Linked DNA regions of Homo sapiens: all the other regions are linked to region 1. Evidence: promoter capture Hi-C in 16 types of primary human blood cells and fetal thymus (Javierre and others, 2016). All regions are on one chromosome and are shown on one strand. Each heading gives the region's core, a stretch centred on a gene start or on the middle of the fragment in contact. The rest is flanking DNA. Distances are from core to core; before and after follow the strand shown. Region 1 holds the start of PCP4 (Purkinje cell protein 4). Region 2 has its middle 66 kb from the start of SH3BGR. Region 3 overlaps DSCAM (DS cell adhesion molecule).

Evidence for each region. The method cuts DNA at HindIII sites, captures the fragments that hold promoters and counts their contacts. A CHiCAGO score of 5 or more calls a contact.
Region 2: a fragment that was not itself captured here is called in contact with the fragment with the promoter of PCP4 in region 1 in 1 of 17 cell types (M1 macrophages); the score reaches 5.3 in M1 macrophages.
Region 3: a contact is called between a fragment that was not itself captured here and the fragment with the promoter of PCP4 in region 1, in 7 of 17 cell types (naive B cells, M1 macrophages, M2 macrophages and 4 more). The highest score is 9.3, in naive B cells.

What each region holds. Positions count from the first base shown.
Region 1 is chr21:39,865,614-39,869,709 of GRCh38, reverse strand. PCP4 (Purkinje cell protein 4) reads right to left here and starts at 2,272. Exons shown (of 3, transcript NM_006198.3): 1 at 2,200-2,272. The coding sequence starts at 2,208. RefSeq lists a silencer at 221-374. The HindIII fragment of the contact is 4,692 bases long and covers 686-4,096 here.
Region 2 is chr21:39,516,415-39,520,510 of GRCh38, reverse strand. No RefSeq gene overlaps it. Among named protein-coding and RNA genes, the nearest start is that of SH3BGR, 66 kb to the right of the region's middle. The HindIII fragment of the contact is 173 bases long and covers 1,835-2,007 here.
Region 3 is chr21:40,122,120-40,126,215 of GRCh38, reverse strand. It overlaps DSCAM (DS cell adhesion molecule), which reads left to right. Exons shown (of 33, transcript NM_001389.5): 20 at 1,888-2,021. Among named protein-coding and RNA genes, the nearest start is that of MIR4760, 88 kb to the left of the region's middle. The HindIII fragment of the contact is 6,076 bases long and covers 1-4,096 here.

The sequences.
Region 1 (4,096 bases), core at 1,023-3,522:
ATTTTAAGCAGATTTGAGGTTTAGTCAAAGGACAAATTCCTGCTCTCCAAGGAGCACATGCCCAGGAACTTGGAGATCAGCCAGGAGCGGTGGCCATGCTGATGGTCAGAGGGAGGAGGCCTCATGTGATGTGAGGGGGAGAAGAGGGCAGGAGGGAGGATGAGGAGCAGAGAGCTGGGAGGGGTTTTGTGAGCAGCAAGGGGAGGCAGAAAAGTGGGATGTGCCCCTTGTGTGCTTTTATCCACATTAAAGGAACTAAGGCAAGAGCTCCTGCAAGAACCTGCAAATGTGTCTGATAAGCGCCATGGCGGGGCGGTGACTACAGAGCTGCCCTGATTACCCGTTCAGCAGGAACCAGGCTGTGACCCTAATCACAGGTGAGCTCTGGAACACGCGCTTTCTCCCTGGAGACCCGCACAGTTGAGTGAGCCCAGCAGAGCTGAGCATCCTGGAGAGCTCATGAGCACCTTGCTGGCCAGAAGCCTCAGCAAGTGACGGCATGACTGAGCCAGAATCCCAGGGTAGCTGACTTGACCCGAGAGGCCACCCCTCAGTGCTGTGCTGCTTTCTAAGTCCTTCTTCTATAGGAAACTCTTATTGGATAAGTTGTATATAAAGAAAAACCACTCCACGCAGCCATCCCTTCTTGTTGCAAGCAAGGTGAGCTGATGTGGACACAGAAGCTTCTGAAATATCTGTAGAGTCCAGCAGAAAGCCCCTCCTCCTAGCATGTGGGAAATGGAGGTCTCATCCTCATCATTCCATCTCTATTTCAGAGCCCCAGCTCCTTTCTTTCTTTCTCTTCACCTCCCCTCTCCTCCTCCAACCTCTGCCATCCCCTCTGTTCAGCAAATTCCATACACATTTAGACATCAAGATTCACCCGGCAGTCAACCACCCAGCATTGCAGCCCAAGTCTTGGCTCTACTGTTCTTTAGCTGGTGACCTCAAACCACTTAGTTCCCATCTCTGTGCCTCAGTGTCCTCATCTGTCAATTGGGAATAATAATGGTGCCCACTGCACGGAGTTGTTGAGAGGTTCAAAGAAGGTGACAGATGCAGAGACAGCCTGACACTGTCGGCACACAGACCATTAGGCAAGTGTTAGCTGCTGTTACAGGTACCATTGATTGTGGTGGTGGGAGAATTCCCATCTTCCACCCCACAGTTGGTCTCTCCCTGCCTCAAACCCCTGGCTTTGTCCTAAACCCCATTTCTAAGTTTTATAGTGCTTTGCTCTTCTTCTTGTCATGTTTACATCAAAAATCACCCATCAGAGAGATAAAAGCAGGGAGGAGGCATTTTATTTCTGAAGTTGTTAATTTTATCCTAGACTTCCAAGAAAAGAATCATCCATCTGTCAAAAAGAGACAGAGAAGATAAAAGATCTTTAAAAGTAATTATTTAAGTGCCAACCAAGAGGAAATGAAGATGCATTTGGCTCGGTTATTGAGTTGAATTAGAGAATGGTGTTGTACCACCGCTAATCTGCTTCATAGATGAGAAAAAAGGAGAAGATGATTTTAGAAAAACAAACGTGCTGTCAGTTGGCCCCAGTAAAACACATTCTGTATAAACAAGTTTAGAGAAGTGACTTTGGATTTGCAAAATTGTAGCTCTTCTTCTGCCGGGGCCGCCTCCGGTCTTAGAGCCACAGATCTATACACACGGATGTTTCCCAGTTCCTACTACTTTTTGCATTTCTTTCCCTGGTGCTCTGATTAACTGCAGAGGTAGTTTGTACAACTGAGCCATGAAATGCCACCCAACGGCCAGCCCTTTCCCCACCTTGTCCCCTTCCCTTCCATGGCTTGCATTCACCAGATGACCACCTGCCCACTCACATTCTGAAAGGTATCACCGCGGGAATCATGCAAAGACACGCATCTTCGTAAGAGAATAAAACATTTGGCTTTCTCTTCTGAGCTCTAAAACCCAAAGCACTTTTCAAAGTCACCATTCAATCAGAAAGCAAACCTTTCTCCTCCTCAGGCTAATTGTAGAAGTTGCAAACTTAACCAATTTCTGCACTTACCATTCAAACCAAGAGATTAATCCTGTCAGTTCTCCAAGCAAATAATTACAGGATTAATTTGTTCCTCAGCACTGCTAAGTCCCTCACATTTCCTGAGACTAATCCTTCAGCCGAGGTCCCTTCTCACTCCTAAGTTTCCCTCTCCAGGTCGAAGCATCACTCACCTCACTCATGTTGGCTCTAACTCAACAGCTCAGTCCCGCCGCTCAGCACAGAGAACACTGCTCAGGGGTCGCTGCTCCACCGGTTCTGGCTTTTCTCTTAAAAAGAGCTGCCCGGTGGCATCATGCCTCCCTGGAGCCAATGAGATGCATTCACCTGTCTGCAAGCCTGGCCGACATCTGAGAGCACCAGGGGCCACCTAGTGGTGCAAAAGAGAACGGCACGTTAGGTCGCTGCTCCAAATTCCGCCAGGATGGAAGGAAATGCTCGATTTCTTTAAAAAGTAATACACTCCAGCCTGGGCAGCAGAACGAGACCCTGTCTCTTTTAAAAAAAAAAAAAAAGTAAAAAGTAAAAGCTAAAGTTTCAAAGATCATCACAGGGATGCCATTGTGCGTTTTTCAATGAGTGCAAGATTTACATGCATGTAAAATACCTTTCAAATGTCAATGGGAAGGATTGTTTTTCTAAGGGAAGAGGAGCTCTGAAAATACCTGCGTGCCCGCTCACGCACTTTCAGGTTTTCCCAGGAGCTGTGTTTCCCTTGCCCTTTATAACACAAAACTCAGCCCAAGGACTTTAATATCTCTGCTGTCTCTCCCCTATCCCATATCTGTCGCCCTGCTTGTACCCTGAGCTGGAAGGATAAGAGTAGATGGACTGGGACATGGGAATGGGTCCCCACGACCTCAACAAAGGAGGCGAGCGGCTCCAGCAGCCTTGCTGATGTGCCCTCCTCACAACCACAGTGGGGCCAGGAAGGAGCCTGGGCATTGGCCCTGGCCTGGTTGAAGGTCTCCTTGCCTTAGTCCTGTTCAGCTTTTCCGGGAAGAGGTTCCATCCTTTGTTCAGTCCCAACATCGTGAGGCTCTGAAGAGTCTTCAAGGCATCAGAGTGGGCCCTCAACTGTCCCAAAAAAGCGTTGTGCAGACTGAAGGCACATTCACATCTGTTACTCTGCCAGTCCCGGTACAGGACTGAGAGGGTCTGGCGAGAAGATTGAAGCGTCTTGCCACCCGTCCCCAGCACCCCTCATCTCCCTGTGCAGAGCAGGCCACCAGACTCCAGCCCATCAACCCTCTCTCCTCAGCTCAGCAGCCCCACGCCCTCTGACCTGGACTGCCCTCCTTACATGCCCAGGTCACCGATGCGACCACATCCTCAGGTCCACCTTGGACAGCAAGCAGAAGGCCATGCGCCCCCAAATGGGCACCGGCGAGCACAGGCTGCCCTCAGAGGCCTTGGCCAGGAGCACCAGCTGGTCAGCACCCTCGCCCACAGCGTGGGAACACCAGCCAGCAAGACAGAGTCTCATACATGAGTTATTATAAAATAACCTATATTTCACAGAGCGACAGAAATGAACATTATATATATTATATAAAATATGTGTGTTATATTCGTTTCTTTTATATGTATATAAATTATTTATTTACATATCCTGACCACACAAATCATTTGCAAACTAATGAAGACAGCATCCTCCTTCTCTCACTCCCCTCCTCCTCCTTGCCCCCAATGCCACGCTTGGGAAGGCCCACGTGGGATGCCTTTAGGGTTGCCCAGGTGGTTAGTAGTGGGAGAGAAGGAGGAGGAGGGCAGGGTGAGGAACTGGAGCCATAGTGTCATCTGCGATGTAGGACAGATTGACAGATTGGAAGAAGGGTGCTTGCTTATCTATACTAGGAGACACCTGTGATTTCTCAGGGGCAAAAACCACACCCTCCCCAGGGGCCTCCTGCCCTGTTGGGGGCTGGACCCCCACAGCCTGGAGGTGTAGAAGGGGTCTCCCAGTGTGAGCCTCCATGGGGTCCCTGCTGTGGTCCTCCAGGCTGTGCAGAGGGCATGTGGAGAATCAGCCTGTGCTCTGCTGGCTGGCTCTGGAGCAGACCTGCATTT
Region 2 (4,096 bases), core at 672-3,171, 350 kb after region 1:
ACAAATAACGTACAATGGACCTCCAACAGACTTTTCAGTAGAAACCTTACAAGCCAGGAGAAAGTGACATGGCATATTTGAAGTGCTGAAGGGAAAATACTTACCCCAGAATAGTACATGCAGTGGAAATATCCTTCAAACATGAAGGAGAAATAAAAACTTTCCCAAAAAAACAAAATGCATGCTTGTACCAAAATATCTCATATAACCCATAAATATATACACCTATGTACCCACAAAATTTTTAATTTAAAATTAAAAATAATTTTTTAAAAAGCAGGGACTACAGAGAAACCTGACCTGCTACAAAACGAACTAAAATTCATGTCATGGGATTAAGACGCACTCATTAAACCATCCTCAACTAGAAGGAGTTGTTCTCTCAGCTAAAAATACCATGTGGGGCTGGTTGCAACTCTGGCACATCACTGCGTGGCAGTTGATAGCTCAGAACCAAATGAGTTATTGGTGTGTGTGTGTCCTTCCGCATCAGTGGGCAAGATATATCCAAGGACAACCAGGCTGGAAAAGGCAGGTGGCAGTTTTAGTATTTTCTCTCTGCAACCTGAAACTTCGGATCTGAGGCCACTGACCAATTTCTAGAACCCTGTGGGTGGACAGTGACCCAGTTCCCTCTGTAACTGGCGCTGGTGGTGGCGGCCACAGCTAGCGGCCCAAAGAACTGGAAGATGAAGGTAATGGAATAGACCTCTGATGGTGCAACTAAGAAAACAAAATAGGTGGATAGTAAGTGAGAAGGGCAAGGCACCTTGCACCAGGGCCCGAACGGCATCGAGTCTGAAGACAGAATGCGAGGACCAAAGCCAGGCGGAGGAGGCGCTCTGGGGCCAAGGCGCACACTGCCCACGGCCAGCCAGGCACCGTAGAGGAACCGTACTGTGGTCCAGGACCGAGAGGAAAGGGCTTGTTGGGAAGGCTGTTCGTGGCTTTGGAGTGGGACACAGGTATATCTCAGCTTCGGTTCAGCCATTGCCGAAGTACTGAATTGAAACCCGGTGCCTCAGTTTCCTCCTTGCCAGATAAAGATGGTATCCACCTCATCGGGTTACTGTGGCAACACACGAAGCCTTTAATACAGAGCCCGGCTCATAGCAGGCACTCCGTTAGTGTTAGTGAATAAAAATAATAGGAAAGCCCACACCCTGATTGTAAGCCTAGACTGTGAGCTTGATTCATGGGAGTCTGCCTCGGAGGTTTCTCTCACCTCCCCTGACAAGATCCGGGTGCTAAATCTACAGAATGCCGGACTGGAACCAGGAGCCCCCCAGGTTAAGCCCCCACTCCACGCCCCCTCTATGCTACTCACACCTGTCCACCTGAGCCCCTCCCCAACTGGAATCTTCCACACCTGAGTACATTTCCGCATCATTGAACAATCTCCTGACTTCTGATTTGGAAAACAGCCAGATGCACTGATACATTTTAAAGATTTCCCAACTCAGTTTTACTACTTCCAAGAAAGTCCTTCCAAAACAAAGTAGTGAAAAAGCCAAGTAACCTAGACAACTGTGAAAGGAATGCCTTTGTTAGGATCGTGAATATATTTCCAAATATTTGGACATATGTTCTATTCGAACTAAAAGTCTTGCGAAAGAAAAGGATAATCAACCCCTTCAATAATCAGAGTTCTGTTTTTACTTATTTGATAAGATAGAACCCCATTAGAGGCTAAAAGACCCCGTATCTTTATCAAAATTGTCAACATGCAATCAGTTGTTGACTGAATTTAGGCTCCTTTTGTATAATGCAAGGATGTGCATTCAAACAATAAATGCACATTTGGCCCAAAATAAAGTTATCTTGGATAAAAGCTTTATAAATGATACACTAATTAATTCACAAATTAATTATAAGTAGAGTTTTTGTCTATTTTCCTCCATCTGGTTGACAAATACCTCTTCCCACCTTCTAATGTCAACTAGCAGTACCCTGACTCGGGTTCACAGCCAGGGGACCTCGGGGGCAGCGACACCATAGCAAGAAGCTTGTCTTTTATCGCCACCTAATGGCCATTCTCTGTTATTACAATGTACCAGGCCCTTCACACCTACTTGCCGTGCTTGCACAGGTGTTAACAGTTAAATGAGGTGCGGTTTTTTTGTTTTGTTTTGTTTTGTTTTTGAGAAAGGGTCTTGCTCTGTCACTCGGGCTGGAGAGCAGTAGCGTGATCAATGGGCTGGGCTAGAGTGCTGGCTCAAGCAATCCTCCCACTTTGGCCTCCCGAGTAGCTGGAACTACAAGCACACGCAACCATGCCTGGCTGATTTTTGTATTTTTTGTAGGGATGGGGTCTTGCTATGTTGCCCAGGTTGGTCTTGAACTCCTGGGCTCAGGCAATCCACCCACCTCGGCCTTCCAAAGTGCTGGGATTACAGGCATAAGTCACCACACCTGGCCCGGGTAAATGAGTTTTGAAAGAAAACATTTGTAGGCTGGGCATGGTGGCTCACGCCTGTAATCCCAGTATTTTGGGAGGCTGCAGTGGGCAGATTGCCTGAGGTCAGAGTTCGAGACCAGCCTGTCCAACACGGTGAAACCCCATCTCTATTAAAAATACAAAAATTAGCCAAACATGGTAGTGCAGGCCTATAGTCCCAGATACTCCGGCAGCTGAGGCAGGAGAATCACTTGAACCTGGGAGACAGAGCTTGCAGTGAGAGTGCCACTGCGCTCCACCCTGGCGACAGAGCGAGACACTGTCTCCAAAAAAAAAAAAAGAAAAAAAATCTGTAAATATTTCCAAAGAATCTTTGCAGGCAATACAGTTCATTCTCTTCCTATACCTTTCACATTTCATTGAGAAAACTAAGAACTCAAAGACAACCACAAAGGAAGATTTCAGTCCAAAGAAACGAGAGGGAGCCCAGGAGAGGAGAGTGGGGAAAGGAGAGTGTATTGTTCAGTGGCTGGAAAAAAAATACACTCAAATTTTTGTGTAGTTGCTTTTCTAATTAAAAAAAAAAAAAAGGAAAGAAAAGAAACAGTTCCTTTGCGTGTTCAGGCCTCCTTTATACTATTAAACCAAGCTCTTTGAACTTCGATTCACTTCAGATCATCATGCAATTATTCCATTTCTCTGGTCTCTTTTGGTTTTTCTTCAAAATGATTTTCCTTATTCACTTGGGGTTTCCTTGTGAGTTATTCTTTTTTACAGATTCACAATGCTGCTTAGTTTCTAGAAGCTTCCTATATTGAAAAGCATTCAGATTTTTTAATCGTATTTTGATACCATACAGTCCATATCTGGGATTCTCCTCACTGTGCCACTGGATTGCTAACCATGGAAGGCTGAAGGGACAGCTGAAGCCAAAACTAGAAGAGAACTGATACCATCCATAGGGTACTATTGATCTAAGTGATTTTTGCATTTCAGTGATACTTTAAATAAAATGAAACAGGAGCAAATACAAATACCCTTCTAAGATGTTAATGTTTCTGACTACAGGAAAACAATATAAGAAAAAATTAATTCAATTTAAATAAGTGGTCTGGGTTTTTATCTTTGCTTATTGTCAGCATAGATATTTATTTTCTTTTTAAAATATGAGAAATAGCAAGGTGGGCAGATCTCTTGAGGACAGGAGTTCCAGACCAGCCTGGCCAATATGGTGAAACCCTGTCTCTACTAAAAATACAAAAATTAGCTGGGCGTAGTGGCACGTGCCTGTAATCACAGCTACTCAGGAGGCTGAGGCAGGAGAATTGCTTGAACCTGGGAGGCGGAGGTTGCAGTGAGCTGAGATCCTGCCACTGAACTCCAGCCTGGGCGATAGAGCAAGACTCTGTTTCAAAAAAAAAAAAGAGAGAGAGAGAGAGAGAAATAGGAGGAAAATTGGCACCTAACTAAATCTATCTCCATCCTACTCTGCCATGAAAGAGAGAAAAGTCAGCCCTGAGCAAGAAGAAGAAAGTTAAGGCCTATTTGTGTAGGGGGTTGTTGTAAAAATTATGCAAGCTTTTTAGATAGGACATAATTTAGTGCAATGAAATTAAAAGTAGAAATTAATTTTCAATTATATGAATTTCCATTTTACTGTGGTCTTTTACCTTAAGCAAAGGGAGAAATGTTTTTAAC
Region 3 (4,096 bases), core at 1,034-3,533, 260 kb before region 1:
TCCCTCCTTCATTTCTTTCTCTTTTTAATTTCTTTTCTAACTTACCTCTAAGGAAGGCTTTCCAAAGTAGTCCCATTAACTGTCATAGAAACAGCTTTCTCTTGCACTTGAATTTCATTGGTTTACGTAATTAATTAACTTACAGTACTACCCATGACACGTACAATTGTCACAAACAGGTTGGAAACAAATACAACTGACTCCTCTTCAGCAGCCATTCAACTGGTTGGTGCTAAACTACTTGGCCTCCTAAAGAGAAGCTGTCCAGCAAGAATGTTCACTGTGGTGAACACCAACCAGGGGCTTTATGGAAAGGACTGAGAGTGTTGGCTAAGCTGGGGTGTCTACTAGGATTAAAATCCCCAGGAAACGTTCACTCTGCCCTTGTTGTTCAGGAGGAACCCTGGCAGCTCTGAACTAGGTTGTGGATGTCTTAGACATTACCCTCACCTGATAGAGGTTTGTTCTCAAGGGATTTTTTAACCCAGGATCTATCATTTATGTGTGTTACCTTTTCTAGACCTTCCACTGTTAGCAAGACTTGCCAAAAATGGATTACCAAGATTTTATATTTTCAAATGGTGACTATGTCCAACCCAAGTTAGTTCTCACCAGAGCTCTTGGTTTTGTTATGCAGACTTAGAAGAGTCAAGGTGACGATTATGAGAAGCACATTCAACTCCAAAACAATTTACTGAGCAGTTGCATTGCCATCAAAGCAGTAAAAGACTCACAGATTTCTCCAGGGGCTTGCAAGGGACTTCTATTGGTTTGAATTTCAATGTCTCCATCAATGTGGTTGCCCTCCATATGGACAGTGAGGTTAATGAGAAACAAAGCAAGAGCTCTGATGCCTTCCTCACTGGCACCTTTGACATTTTGGCATCTTCTTGTCTTGGCCATCTCACCCGCCCTCACCTCTTCAACCTGGAAAATAAAAGAACAAGAGGAGTGGGACATGCCTTCAATCTCACTCCCAAATCATGCTTAGTATTGCTGCCACCATGTTCTGCCTTCTTAGCTGGTTTACAGAGGAGAGTTTGTCTTACATGGATACTGTGAATCTTTGACCCAATAATCCCTATTCATCAACAATATTTCCATACCTCTCCTGAGCCCAAAGTGGTGCCATTACAAAATGACTAGGGTGAGGGAGGGTGGGGTCTCTGATGGCTGAGGTAGTTCACCCTCATGCTTCTCAAATTCAGGATCCAAAAGGTTCATCCCCAGTACATTCAAAGCCAAAAACTGCAGCAGAAATGAGACTGATCCAGAAGTTAATTCTCCAGTTATCCAGAGGCAGGAAGTTGCCAGGGGCTGAAATGGGTTGGGAAGACTCCCCAGGACAAGAGGGACTAGAACTGACTGTATTAGGTCCTAGAGCTACAAAGGACCACAGACTCCAACATTAGGAATTTATTTGCTGTCTCTGAGTTCTGGAGGCCAGAAGTCCAAAATCAAGGTGTCTGCAGGGCTGGTTCTCTTTAAGAGCTTTGAGACAAGCATCTGTCCTGGGCTTCTCTCCTTGGCTTATAGATGCCCTCTTCTCCCTGTGTCTTCACATCATCTTCCCTCTATACATGTCTGTCTCTGTGTCCAAACTGGCCCTTTTTATAAGGACACCAGAAGTACTGGATTAGGGACCACCCTAACAAACTCATTTTAACTTGATTACCTCTGTAAAGACCCTACCTCCAATTACAGTGTCATTCTGTGGTCCTGGGGGTTAGGACTTCAACATATGCATTTGGGGGGACACAGCGGAACCCATAACGCTCATCCTGAAAGAGCTGAACAGTAAGTGCGGAGTGGGGTCATGTTGGGAAGCGTGGGTCCGCAAGCCCAAGTTGAGGCCCCACCTTGTGACTAAACACACGGCTCTTCCAGTTCCAGGTCCTCCCGCGGGTGTGAAGGCAGCGGCGGCCTCAGCCTCCATGGTCTTTGTGTCCTGGCTTCCCCCTCTCAAGCTGAACGGCATCATCCGAAAGTACACTGTATTCTGCTCCCACCCCTATCCCACAGTAAGTTGGTAAATAACCAAGTGCCTTTCAAGCGTCTGCCAGGGACGAGCTGCAGGTGCTCGCACTGGACAGTTTCGTTCCTTTGTTTCCCACCTACCTGGGTCTTTCCAGTGGTTTTGTTTTGCCCCTGCTGTCTCCACATACAAAACAAAGTCCTCATTTACACCTCATTTGAAAATACGCTCCTGAATCATGACAAGGGGGACAATTGTCTGGAATTATTGTTTATTTGGTGAGTTCCCACTAAACTGCCAGCAGCCTGATCAAAATCAAAACCCAGAGGCCTTGATTGTGCCTTAATTGATAGTCAGTGGACAACACCTATTGATTTTACTGTTGGACTCATCATGATAAGCACTTCACGCCTTCCCTCCCTCCCTTCTCCCTCCCTCCCTCCTTCCCTCCCTCCTTCCTTCCCTCCCACCCTATCCCTCCCTTCTTTCCCTCCTCCATCTCTCACAGGGAAAAGAATAGCAGGCAAAACCCTATTGTGCTAGAAATGAGGGACTTTAATGAAGATCTATTACCCTTACAGTTACAGCAGTCAGCCTGGTTCATTGTGAAGGAACTAAAAGTTATTTACTATTTCAAAGTGTGGTTTTTGTTATCGTTCATATTATTCCTGCTGAATAATCATTATAAAGTTAGACTGCTTCTGAGACCACACCAAAACATATCAAAAAGGGAAATTTTAAAGAAAAGAAAACATTAAAATGACCCACCAAAATTGACGATGTCTTCATGGAAACATTATGACATTTTCTGCAGCAGGTGCCATGTCTCTTCCATCTTTGTATCTCCAGCTCCCAGCATAGAACTTGACACATGTAGTCATTCACTAAGCGTTTGTTGAGTGAATATACACACTGGTTTTGTTTCCTTTCTGGTAAAATACACATAACGTAAAACTTACCCTCTTGACCACTTTGATTATTGAGTTCATCAGTATTACATACCTTCACGTTGTTGTGAAGCCATCACCACCATCCATCTCCAGAACTCTACAAAACCGAAACTCTGTCCCCATTAAACACGAATTCCCTATCCTCCCTCCCACCAGCCCATGGCACCCACCATTCTACTTTCTGTCTCTGGATTTGACTCCTCTAGGGACCTCATGCATGTGGAATGATATAGCATTTGTCATTTAGTGACCAGCTCGTTTCACTTGACATGATATCCTCAAGGTTCATCCATGTTGTAGCATGCGATGGAATCTCCTTCCTTGTTAGGGCTGAAAAATATTCCCAAACAAATTTATGGATTAATCTTTTAATCAAGGTGATATGTTTGCCCAAGCTCAGAGTCCACAGGTGCCCCTGAGGCCTGGTGTACCCCAACAGTGAGTGTGTGAGAGTGTGTGGGCTTGCTTGGCCCATGAAGTTCCGTCTGTTGCTGAAAAAGCAAGGTGTGTTCTCTACTGCTTATGCATTCATGGCAGTACTCTGCCCTTGAAGTCAATATGTAAACGTAAATAGTCAGAGTTAGACTCCACAACATTTTTCTGGGCTTCTTATGTGGTTTTCAATATGCTGTTAATCCTCACTTACTGAATCCTACTATCAAAGCCCAGAGATGGAGAGCAGCGTAGACACTGAAAAAAAGCTGAGCCATTGTGCCCTCAATGCCCAGGGTGGCTTCTGCTTTTCTGCTTATCACTGACATGTCCCGTATTCACCAAAGAGAGACAAAAATTATTGCTGAAATAAAGTATACTCATTTTCCACTAGAACTTGAATTGCATCTGTATTAGTATTCACTCATTCATTCATTGATCTCTTTGCTATGGGATTCACGGTTGCTCTTTTGACTCTAACAGGCTAGAAAGCACCTAGCAGGGTATAGAAAGACCAGCAGCTTCCTCTCGTTTTGTCTTCTCAATCATCTTATCTTTATCTCTGCACTAAAAATCCCTACCTGGCTTACTTGAAATGAGTCCTTAGTGACTGATGCTTACTGAGAAAGCCCCTATTTGTGGATGATACAGGCTGTATTTGGCTCTGTCCTCCTGGCCTAAGAATTACATACAATAGAAAAGGAAGAAAAAACATCCTATCCTGAAAACAAAGTCACAC